Linked DNA regions of Homo sapiens: region 2 is linked to region 1. Evidence: promoter capture Hi-C in 16 types of primary human blood cells and fetal thymus (Javierre and others, 2016). All regions are on one chromosome and are shown on one strand. The core of a region is centred on a gene start or on the middle of the fragment in contact, and the rest is flanking DNA. Distances in the headings are between cores, read along the strand shown.

Region 1 (5,855 bases), core at 1,277-3,776:
AAGGACCCTCTTTATAGCTACCATTTGCCTACAATAAATTATTGCAGCAGTTTGCAATACTAAAATATTTTTTATAGACTTTATATTTTTCCTTTTGATAAAGGGATGCTGCATAGTAGAGTTGGTGTAATTAAACTATCTCAGCCGTTTCCCTGCTTTCCCTTCTGCTCCATATGCCTCATTGTCCTTCCAGGGAGCTCTTTTAATCTTAAAGTTCTACATTTCATGCTCTTAGTCAAATTCTGTTACCTTTTTAATAACTCTTCCCACTGCATATTTCCATCTTGAATTGGTGGTTCTAAATTCTGAAACTGTAGTTGAGATACAGCTATTTAATATTTCTGGGAGATGTGCATCCCTCTTCTTTGTGGTTGCCCAAGGTTGTTTTGCGTAACTGAGACTCCTTGATATGCTTCAGAGAATTTAGGCAAACACTGGCCATGGCCGTGGGAGTACTGGGAGTAAAATAAAAATATCGAGGTATAGACTAGCATCCACATAGAGCACTTGAACCTCCTTTGTACCTGTTTGGGGAAAAAGTATAATGAGTGTACTACCAATCTAACTAAGATTATTATAGTCTGGTTGTTTGAAATACCATTTTTTTCTCCTTTTGTGTTTTTCCCACTTTCCAATGTACTCAAGAAAATTGAACAAATGTAATGGATCAATTTAAAATATTTTATTTCTTAAAAGCCTTTTTTGCCTGTTGTAATGTGCAGGACCCTTCTCCTTTCATGGGAGAGACAGGTAGTTACCTGAATATAGGTTGAAAAGGTTATGTAAAAAGAAATTATAATAAAAGGGATACTTTGCTTTTCAAATCTTTGTTTTCTCTTATTCTAGGTAAGGCATATTAAAAATAAATATGTAAAGAAGAAAAATAAAAGTTGTCTTCATGGAAGCAACTTGTCTTCCTTGGTTGTACTGAGTTACAGTTATCCTAGGGGTGAAACATGTGATGCTGCTAAGCAAACCAAATGCCCTCAGAACAGGTGTTATGTGGGGCATACTATTGTTTGCTTTTGTTGAGAATCAGGTGGTTAATTTTTGACTGTTCTTGATTTCTAATGCTGAAATGACATGATTCTGTTATTCAGCAAACTTGGAAATCTTGATGTTTTGACAACTGCCTCCTAGGAAAACTGGCCATATGTTAATTAACCTAGTAGATGGAAAATTAAGGATTATGTGAGGTTAATTTTACCCTGATAATGACAAAACCTTGATAGCATTTAATATTAATACTTCTTCTCAAAATTGAATGTTTATATCAAGTACTGATTTTTATTTTAAAAAAGAAAAAACTATAATCCTTCTGCCTTCCAAAAGCCATGCTGTGATAGCTGCCCAGGCTGCTCTGTTACATCTCCCATTTATTGTTTACTTTTATAAATTTGCTTCTAAGATGGTATGTGTTTCAGCTTATTGGCAATATCTATGATATAAATAATGAAAGCTAATTATTTCATTTAGCCCTTACCCAATAAGCATCATTTTCTAAGTTAAATGCAATAGAATGACAACCCTCCAAGTACCTTTTAACTTTTATACTGTCATTTCAAAGCCCAGCTCATTCTCTTATTTTAAGAAGCATGTGGTATGACTGGGTAGGGGAGAAAAAAGGAAAGCATGTTGTCACTTGAGTGAGACTGCTTTAGAAATGTTACCAAGTTAGCGTTGGGTGTTTCCTGTTCTTTGGAAGAGAACAGGCCTAAACAGTACCTTCCTCCTCCTATGTAGCTACCAGGAAGGCACCGTGATTGAAATTAGAGATGCTTCCTTGCTTGATTTTTAAGTATAAATTAAATTACCTTTAAAAAGTACGTAAGGTTAGGAGTGAAAAAAATCCTGTTTTTAAAGGACTTCACACACCCTTTGTTTCTTGAACAAGATGTGAACTACCTAAACAGAAAATGAAATTGGAAAGTCAGTGGGAGAGACAACTATAGAATCAGACTTCTATTTAAATTCAAGCCTCGTTACTTGATTTTGTGCATGTTATTTCTTGAAGTTTCAGTTTCTTATATGGAGAAATAACATTTACCTCAGAAATATTCTGAAGATCAAATGGAATTGCTTTAAAGTATTTAGCTTACTGACTGACCCATGGTAGATACTTAATAAATGGCAGCTGTGTCAATAACAATTTTATTGAATGAACATTTCGCCAGCCTATGAGAAAAAAGACATGGGAAGCATAAGGGAGAATGATAATAAAATGAACTAATTCTAAGTGTGTGAGATAGATTACATTAGGCAGGGGTGCCATGAGGATTGGTATGATAGTGACCTTGTTGCTAAGTGCAAAAGCAAAACAATGACATAGAAACAAGTGTGCTAAGTACTGAGTGGAGGAGAGAGATGGAGGCAGACGCTGCAGGGGAAAAAAAATCTGATTAAAAAGGGCCCTTTGATTCCACAGGCACAAAAATCCACAGCCAGGAATTTGCTACCTCCTCTGAGTCAGGCAGGGCGTGGGGGTGGGGTGCACAATCCCATTAGTAGAGAATGCCCAGTGGGTTTAGTCTTTGAGAGTCACATCTCTTATTTGGACCAGTATAGACAGAAGTAAACCCAGCTGACTTGTTTCCTGGGACAGTTGAGTTAAGGGATGGCTTTCACAGAGCATTCACCGCTGACCCCTCACCGTCGGGACCTCTGTAGCCGCTCTATCTGGCTAGCAAGGAAGATTCGTTCAGACCTGACTGCTCTTACGGAATCCTATGTAAGTTGCCTATTTTGCTGTTATCTGTTTTCCCTTCATCTTTTTTGATCCAGCAACTTACCATCACGCATCAGCTCCATTACCAATTGTGAAAGCTCTAATCATATAGTCATTCATATAGGTTATTTGACATGGGCCCTTCCCTTGAGGAAACCCATGTGACTTTATTTTCTTCCTCTGGGCTGTTTAGGAGATGAAGTTACTTGAATGAGAAAATATATATGGAGTTCTAGAAAGGATTGGTTTATATGTCTTGGAGGCTATTCCAAATTTATTGGCATATATTCTGAATACTACTAGAACAGATTAGCCATGGGCCCTCTGGGTTCTTCATAGCCATTGTTCTGAATTTTTTAGCTATGTAAATGAAAGGTTTATGGGATAGGAAGAGTACTATGAACGTGGGAGGAATTTGTAAATCCTACCAATTTCTCCTATATAGCATTAGCCACCCACCTTTTAGTATTCTGCATCAAAAGTAGATTGTGTCTAAAGAGAAAGGTAAGCTATCAAAAGGATCTCCTAGAAGATTCATTGGAAACTTGTGGAAGTGTCAAATTCTTGAGCTAATTCTGGAGTTCCAGATTTGTCTTCTAACAGTAAGGGGATCCCCATCAATTTCCACCTGAGATATGCTGTGGAAATACTCCAACCCCTGTGGAGAGTTTTGAATTTAGGCTGAGAACTGATTTATCTTTGTACAGCCTCACCAGACAGAAATCAGACTCTTTGGGAGTGCTCAATGGGGAGAGGGAAGTTAGAGAAATTCTACAATGGCTATATTCCAAGTTTTCCTAGTTGTGGCCAGTGTCTTTTACAAGTATGTTTAAAAATACTTTAATATGATTAAAATATTCCAGTTAATGAGAGAGTTTGAAGTGAGAAGGAAAAATTCTTCTAAATCAGTTTTCAACCTTTAGAACTCAATAAAATCTGAACATTCTTCTAAGAAAAATCCATAGGTAGTCAATTTCAGGCAGTATTGGGTCTTTCTAAAGTCCAGTCATAGAGCCCAAATTAAGAGTTCCTACTGTAGACATATTATTTACTTTACAACTTGGATCCTTGGCCAGAGAGATGAGTGAGATTTTGTATGAAATTTAGGGGTGATTTAAGGACACTGGGGTGATGACAGAAGATGTGGTGTTTTCCTGTATCCTCGGCCAGGTGAAGCATCAGGGCCTGAACAAGAACATCAACCTGGACTCTGCGGATGGGATGCCAGTGGCAAGCACTGATCAGTGGAGTGAGCTGACCGAGGCAGAGCGACTCCAAGAGAACCTTCAAGCTTATCGTACCTTCCATGTTTTGTTGGCCAGGCTCTTAGAAGACCAGCAGGTGCATTTTACCCCAACCGAAGGTGACTTCCATCAAGCTATACATACCCTTCTTCTCCAAGTCGCTGCCTTTGCATACCAGATAGAGGAGTTAATGATACTCCTGGAATACAAGATCCCCCGCAATGAGGCTGATGGGATGCCTATTAATGTTGGAGATGGTGGTCTCTTTGAGAAGAAGCTGTGGGGCCTAAAGGTGCTGCAGGAGCTTTCACAGTGGACAGTAAGGTCCATCCATGACCTTCGTTTCATTTCTTCTCATCAGACTGGGATCCCAGCACGTGGGAGCCATTATATTGCTAACAACAAGAAAATGTAGCAGTTAGTCCCTTCTCTCTTCCTTGCTTTCTCTTCTAATGGAATATGCGTAGTTCCCTGGGGCCTCGCTTTCCCATCTTAAATTTCTAAAAACAGTTAAGACAACAGGCATTTTCTTTCTTTTTTCTCTGACCACCTGCAGCCTGTTGAAGGACTACAGGTATTTTCATCAAGTAGCGTTGGAGACATACACAAATGGGCATACAAGTTTAGCCTGGGGGGTGTGATTTGTGTGCGTGCTTGCATGTGCTGCAGGTGTAAGAGAGTGGGAGCAGGGACAACGTCCTTCCACTTCAGGGTTCTAACCTTTCTAACCCACTAAGTAACCTCTACAGGCATTTAACTGCCTTACAGACAGAATATACATATGTTAATTCTAGTCCTGGATGACTCGGTCTGAGAAGATTCAATTTAAAATCAGACTCTTTAGTTGATTTAAACTCTTAGAGAATAAGAATAATAATGGCTAACTTTTATTATCTTCTATATTAAGGCAGTATGCCAAGGGTCTTTATGTATATTATGTACAGCGTTTACAACCTTGTGAGCAAGGTGGTGTTACTCCCATTAGGTAGATGAGAAAACAGGCTCACAGAGATTTGGTTAAGCTCACACAGCTAACAAGTAGCACACTGAGTTTGAACACAGATCATTCTCCTTGTAAAAGCCTATGTGCCTTTCACTTTAGAGGCTTGATCATGAATCACTGCACCTCTTTGTCACAGGGTGTTGGAAGATGCATCCATGTAATCTATTCCCATCGCTGGAAAACAGCTGCTGTTAGATGTCCTCAGAAGTCAGTTGCAAATTTTAGCGTTAAAGTCAGGATTTATTGTTCATACTTGGCGGTGAGGAGGGCAGCTGGAGATCTTAAGATTCCATTTTGGAAAATGATTAGGCCCGCCAAACTTCTGAACTTTGGAAGCTGGGGATGTTTAGTAATACAGCCTGGTTTTTAAGTACTCACTAAAAGTTCTCAAATATTGGGTTGGGCACGGCTTATACCAGGTTACCTCACTTTTAATTAGTGATGCAGGCAGTGTAACCCAAGCATTTGTGGACAATGAGTGGAATACTAAAGTTAAAAAGTCAAACTTTCACCTCAGATTTTCTGGACTTAGTCATGAGGAGAGGGTGAGGCCCACTCTGTTCCTACTGGAGATACCAGAGACTCTGAAACTATAGAATAAAGCCTCTGTGCTGCACAACAAAGGGGCAGGCTCTGCTTTTATTTCTTGTAAGAACCAACATAGTATGAAAGGTTGGTCAATGCGGACATTAATGGAAAAGGCCATGTACTGGTGGTGTGATGTGAATCCAGAAATTTTCAAGTGTGTCATTTATTTTATACTTATCAATTAAAACTCAAGATCATGGATTGGGAGACCAAGTTAATTTAATTAACTGGGGCTTCTGTATTCGTAAATGAACCATGAGTCAGGGCTAACTCCCATAGGTTTCATGAGGTGTGG
Region 2 (6,121 bases), core at 3,354-5,853, 280 kb after region 1:
TTTCTCCAAGGAAGATTCCACCTCCTGTTCTGCCAGTTCCCTCATATTTGCCTCATACAGTTGCCCTTGTAGGCAGATGAACCCGGGCCAGTTTTACTTTACTATGGACACTAACTCCTCTGAAATAACATCTGAGTCTTGGGATTTGCATATGAAACTTCCCTTGACACAGCAAACAGTCTTTCCTTTTACCTTCAGTAAAGGCATCCACTTGGGAGAATGGACAGCACTAAAATTCCACAGATTTCAAAACCAAACCTGCTGTGCCTTTCTAGAGTCCTTGGAATGAAGAAGAGAAAGTAGGTTAGAAGGGATGATTTCCTCCTTCCTTCCTCACCCTGAAGGAGCTCCCATTTTTAAAGGAAAAAATTGGGGACAGTCCAAAAGAAACTCTTATAAATCAAGCCTTGCCATGCCACCATGAGAAGGGTAACCTGCATGCCCAGGGGTGAAATTTTTATATTTTTGTAATGATGTCCAAGGTCACCCCTGTGGATAACAAAAATATTTAAAAACCTATAAGGGTGCCAACCTTTTAGAACTGTGTGTCTTCACAAGGACCTACCAAGGCCTAGAGATCACAGCACCCCACTAGCAGCCATCTCCAAAGGCTTCCCACCTGCCCCAACCAACACACACACGGACGCACACACACACATAAATGCACACACACACACATCCTCCTGCTATCCTTTGGCCCTAGATCTCACCTAACTTTATTCTAAATCTTGATCTCCCTGTGCCCCCAAACTCATGTGTTATAGGGCCTTGGTAATCCCTTTGTAAGCATATTCCCTGACTTCATAAAAACTATTTATGAAACATATATCTAAGGTAAAACTTTTCATTTCATGCTAGATCAGCACTCTTCTTATTACAGTTACAAACACTGAACTTTTTAGTTGCTTGGAAAATATATTGAAAAGGAATTATTATTCTTGTATAGCCATAGATTATCCCTGGAAAAGTATTGATTGCCTAGAAAATGAGTGAAAATTGTTTCCCCATATACATTTTTTTCTTTTGAAAAGGATATCCTGTATATATTCAAGAGATACTGCTTTTTAAAAGAGGAAATTGCCTCCACTATGGAGTCTTATTAATTCACTTATCCATCAAGTTCTCTTATTAACTTAATTATCCATAATATTCCCTTAGTAATTTTTATTCAATCACTAGTATTTGTTTCTAATGCTCATAATTGAACACAAATTTCTTTACTATTATATAAAATAAAGTACCAGTTATTCTCCATTTTCTCCTGTACCCCAATAAGACGACATCTTCCAATAGATTCATTTCCCTGTTCTGCTGCCTCCTCACATCCAGATGAGTGTGCTAAGTGAGACAAATGTTTTTATTCTTCTACCATTCATCCCCCTGAGACCAATCTCTGGCTGTTTTAGTTCCAGATGGTCAGAATTTCCCTTGCAGTGTGTCTCTTCTATTTAAAGAACCCTTCTTTAAAGCTTTTATTACACTTCCTGGAGAGCCTAACATTGTCCATTTAGAGTTAACTTTCTACATAAAATTGGCCAGATTGTTTTTAACTCACTATTGTTTCCTCTTTTTTTTTTTTTTATCTGCTCTTATCTGAGATCTCTGTTCCTATTTGATTAGTTAAAATTCTTTCTCTAGGCCGGGTGCAGTGACTGACGCCTGTAATCCCAGCACTTTCGGAGACCGAGGCGGGCAGATCACGAAGGTCAGGAGATCGAGACCATCCTGGCTAACACTGGGAAACCCCGCCTCTACTAAAAATACAAAAAATTAGCCGGGCGTTGTGGGATGCCTGTAGTCCCAGTTACTCCGGAGGCTCAGGCAGGAGAATGGCGTGAACCTGGGAGGTGGAGCTTGCAGTGAGCCGAGATCGCGCCACTGCACTTCAACCTGGGCGACAGTGCAAGACTCCATCTTAAAAAAAATAAAATAAAATTCTTTCTCCAATATTTCCTGGATGTAAATATGCTACTGATATAATATGTGAAGACTTTCAAAACCACAAATATATTTATTTGACCCTCAGAAGAATATAATTTCTGCAGCCTTATAAATACGCAAATATTTTTTCTTTTACACTCAGGGGACTGATGCCCTATGAATCCACATTTTAGGATGACCAAATTTAATTTTTTCCATTTTATACATAAGGAAACTGAGGTGCAAAGAAAGAAGGTAACCTTGAACCTTCATTCAAGGTCACAAAGCTAATAAGAAGTGGATGACTAGCGATGAGGGCTTCAGGTTGAGATTAACAACCAACATCACAGGATATAATAGGGTTCAACCCAACTTCAAGTTCATAAAATGAATGGACATTCCCTGATCTTCCCTCCACTCCCACCCCCACCTCAGGGGATTTCAGGATGTACAGGGCAAAGCTGTCTCCCTCCACTCCCAACCGTTTCTCAGTCAGTGTGGGGTGTTAAGAACTCCTCACTGCCCCTCTTGAAGCTTACATTCTGGAGCAGGGAGGCAGAAACTAAACCAAAAATTAAAAAAACAAAAACAGTAAACATATTTCCTATAAACTCAGGTGTAGTATATGAAAAACAACACATGATTTGACGACAGAAGATGATGGAGGGAGAAAGAACAACAAATAAATAGGAAAAGAGGCCTCAGATACGAGCAGACAAAAAGGAGAGGAAACAGGAAGGGGTTAGGACGGGCCTCCACAAAAGACTGGCATTTGACAGACAGCTGCAGAAAGAAGGAACAGAGCCAAGCACATACCAGCGGGTTAGGGTTGCAGTCTGAGAAAGCACTCCAGGAATCACCCAAGATGGTCCACTAGGGTGAACAAAGGACATACTTGAACCAGCATTTAGATTCATCTTCATCTAAAAAATAAGAAATTAAGTGTGCCTAATATTTATTTAACATGTTAATTACAACAGAATATATATATATACACACACATACATATATAGTTGATGCTCAATTTGTTAAAAATTTGGTATGTAAAATTAAAGCTCAGAGATTACTCTTGCGTACGGCAATAAGCTCCTGAAAGGCAAGGATAGATTTCACCCCTCTCTGTATTTTCAGAGTCCATCGAATTGTGTGGAACAAAATAGGTATCAGTAGTATTTTGGGGGGTGGGGGGAGATCGAAACCATGCGGAGCACCGGAATTCTGTGTAAATCATTTAAAAAAACCTCCTCTGCTTTACAGCAGAGTCCCTTTTCTTTTGTATTTTTAGTTGCAACTAGCCCCATGCCTTGTAGATGACCCCTAAGAAATGAATGAGTGAATGAACGCGTGGACAGCAGGATGGATCAGTGAGTGAGGAGCAGTGATTCGCAGGACATGCATGCATTGAAATCCTGACAAAGCAGCCTCTGCAAAATAAGAGACCTTAGGCTTTGGTGTCTGACAGAAGATAAAATTATTCAAGGGCTGTCCTTGGGCAACTTAGTTGAGGTTTCCTAATCTATGAAACAGAAAATGATTAAATAGAAAGACGATTGCGAAAAAACCTATGGAAGGTGCGAAAGCAGGATGCCTGGCATTGAGAGACGCTTCACACCTGTTATCTCTCTCCCTATTCTCTCTCCACTCCTACTCCCGCCCGGCAGCTCCCCGCTGTCAGCACCAGAAATACCCGCTAAGAATACGAAAAGCAACGCTGGCCTTACACCGTGACGCTTTTAAAAACTCTAAAAACCCAGCGTGACGGGGGGTAGGTTTGCCTAAAGACAGGTGAGGCAGCCTTAGTTAACTGAGAAGGTTAATTGACAAAGAGGGTTGAGCCACTATGAGCCGAAGCAACCTTGGACTAACAGGTGTATCTTCAGCCAACACATGTCCCAGCATCTCCCACGCCCATCCCTCCATTTAGCACCCAAAATGCAGCCTCCTAAGAGAATGGGAAGCTTGGGGGGGTGGTCAGCTTTGGCTTTCATGGAAGCTACCATTGGCTTTCATTGATGTCAACCCATTAAGGGAATCTTCGAGTCCAAGAACGGAAGCTACCATTGGCCTTAATCTTCACCTCCCGCTTTTCTTCCCTGCTTCTTTTCTCCTCCCTATTCCAGTAGGTTAGTTCTCTGGCGCCATCAGCTGGCAGCACGCGGGAATATACCAAACGCGGAAACGCGCCTTCGCCTGCCCTGAGTAACTGCAAATCCAGGGCTGAGTGAGGTATTTAAGCGCTTGGCTTGTGTACTCAGGACGGTGCTAAAAGGGGGCTGCCTGCGCGGATCCTTTTCCCACAAGATGCAAGTAAAAAAGCACCGCTGACGCCCTGGGAGGGTCACAGAGAGACAGGCGGGGCGGTTGACCAGCTGAACGGACTCACTTCTAAGAAATGCAAATTACCGAGCCACAGTCCAACCAAAGGTATCAAAACAGGATCTCTACCGATGGAGCTCAGCGATATGTGTTTTGACCAGCTCACAATAAGATTTTCATGCATCATACATTTTGCTTGAGTTTCTCAGGTAGTTATGTTGATGTCCGGATTTGTTAAAAGCTGCAGATTACTGGGCCTCACCCCAGACCTATTGAACTTAAATATATTTGGGTTCCCAGAATCCCCATTAAAACAAACAAACAAACAAACAAAACACCTATCCAAGTGATACGGTTGAACTTTAAAGTAAAGAGAATCACAAACTGGCAGATCTCTTTAATTTATACTTAGGGAATGGAGACTTCCCCCACCCCCACCAAGAGGGAAAGGAATTTGCTCAAGGTCTCCCTGCAAGATCCTAAGAAAACGTGAAGCTCTAAGGTTAAAATCCTACCTGACAGCCTTTCCCTCCCCCAACTAGTCCTGTGACCTCTAGCAAATTATCCTGTCCTAATCTGTGAAATGGGATCAACAGTCACACCTACCTCAATGGGTGACTGTGAACATCAAAAGAGACCAAAATGAGTCAACTACCAAGCACTGCCCCACTGGAGGTAGACATTGAACTAAATCTTGATCACTCTACCCCCCATTCATCTCCGAGTACCACTGTATGAGGATGGAAGTGAAGTCACCCAGCCACATGTTGGTCCCAAACCATGTAAACCTCTACACACAGCTCAGTGAATATTTCTTTACTTGAAGAGAGAGAGAGGCTCCTTGGAGCCTCTGGAGTCTGGAGGTGGATGTTACCATCCCCATGAGTGCATTGTCTTCCTAAGATAGGATGGACTACGGGGTCTATATGGGAAGTGTTAGCTGCCAGTACTTCAAGGCTGGCTCCTAAGCTGTTGCTGGAGGCTTAGAGACCCCATTTCAGCTATCTATCAATAGGGGCAGGTTGTTAGCAGGAGTGAGTGAGGTGAGCCCACTATGAACCCACAGGAGGACAGGAAAAAAACCATCTCATCTAAGCTTTCACATACCCCATTGCAAGCTCCATTATGTGGTGCCCAGGCCCTTATGTCTGACACATCCCCAGAAGCCAATTCTCCTCAGTCCTTCCTGCCACTTCTGCCATTGTACATCCAGACAGTTCCACTCTTTTCTTCTGTCAAACTCCTACTCATCTCTCATCCATCAAGTCCAAATATAAATCTCATTCTCTGTGATATACTCCCAAGGTAGAGGCAGTGGTGCCTTCCTCTGTATTCCCAGAACATGTTGTTTGCAACTCTAAATACAGACATCAGCCTACTGTTAGAGTTTAGAAGCATCTTTTAGGGGTTCATGAAGGAATCCCTTTCCATAAACACTGGCCTTACTCCCTAACTTCACCAGACCTGGCCTTAGTGCTTGATCCATTCCCACCTCACCCGACCATGTGAGGGCTTTTCTTCTTTGTGGGTTTGACTACCACAAAATGACCCAACGACCAGTTACTTGGCCAAAAGTATTCTCATCACATTTATAATAAAATCCAGCCAACAAGATGCTTTCTGCCAAGGGAATGTTCTTTTTCAGGGCAAACACTCTGTCCTCAGGGATGCTGGACAACTTCCACAGCCCCATGTAAGCATTAGCTGAAAGTGAGGCTTCCTTGGTGGCTCAACAGATTCCCTGAGCATCCCTACCCTGTCACTGATATCAAATTGCAGTGGATTGCATCCAAGCTCTCAGACCATAGCTGCAAAAGGAAAATCAAAGCTAGAGCTCTACTCTGGACCTATAGCTCTAGGTAGTTAGTTTCTCTGTGAGGGTCAC

The links. The method cuts DNA at HindIII sites, captures the fragments that hold promoters and counts their contacts. A CHiCAGO score of 5 or more calls a contact.
Region 2: a fragment that was not itself captured here is called in contact with the fragment with the promoter of CNTF in region 1 in 1 of 17 cell types (megakaryocytes); the score reaches 5.2 in megakaryocytes.

Annotation. Positions count from the first base shown.
Region 1 is chr11:58,620,139-58,625,993 of GRCh38, forward strand. It overlaps CNTF (ciliary neurotrophic factor), which reads left to right and starts at 2,527. Exons shown (of 2, transcript NM_000614.4): 1 at 2,527-2,728; 2 at 3,896-5,595. The coding sequence starts at 2,615. The coding sequence ends at 4,384. It overlaps ZFP91 (ZFP91 zinc finger protein, atypical E3 ubiquitin ligase), which reads left to right. Exons shown (of 11, transcript NM_053023.5): 11 at 1-1,412. ZFP91-CNTF (ZFP91-CNTF readthrough (NMD candidate)) reads left to right here. Exons shown (of 13, transcript NR_024091.1): 12 at 2,628-2,728; 13 at 3,896-5,595. The HindIII fragment of the contact is 9,454 bases long and covers 1-4,014 here.
Region 2 is chr11:58,896,916-58,903,036 of GRCh38, forward strand. It overlaps a transcript of GLYATL2 not described here. Among named protein-coding and RNA genes, the nearest start is that of GLYATL1, 40 kb to the right of the region's middle. The HindIII fragment of the contact is 1,454 bases long and covers 3,877-5,330 here.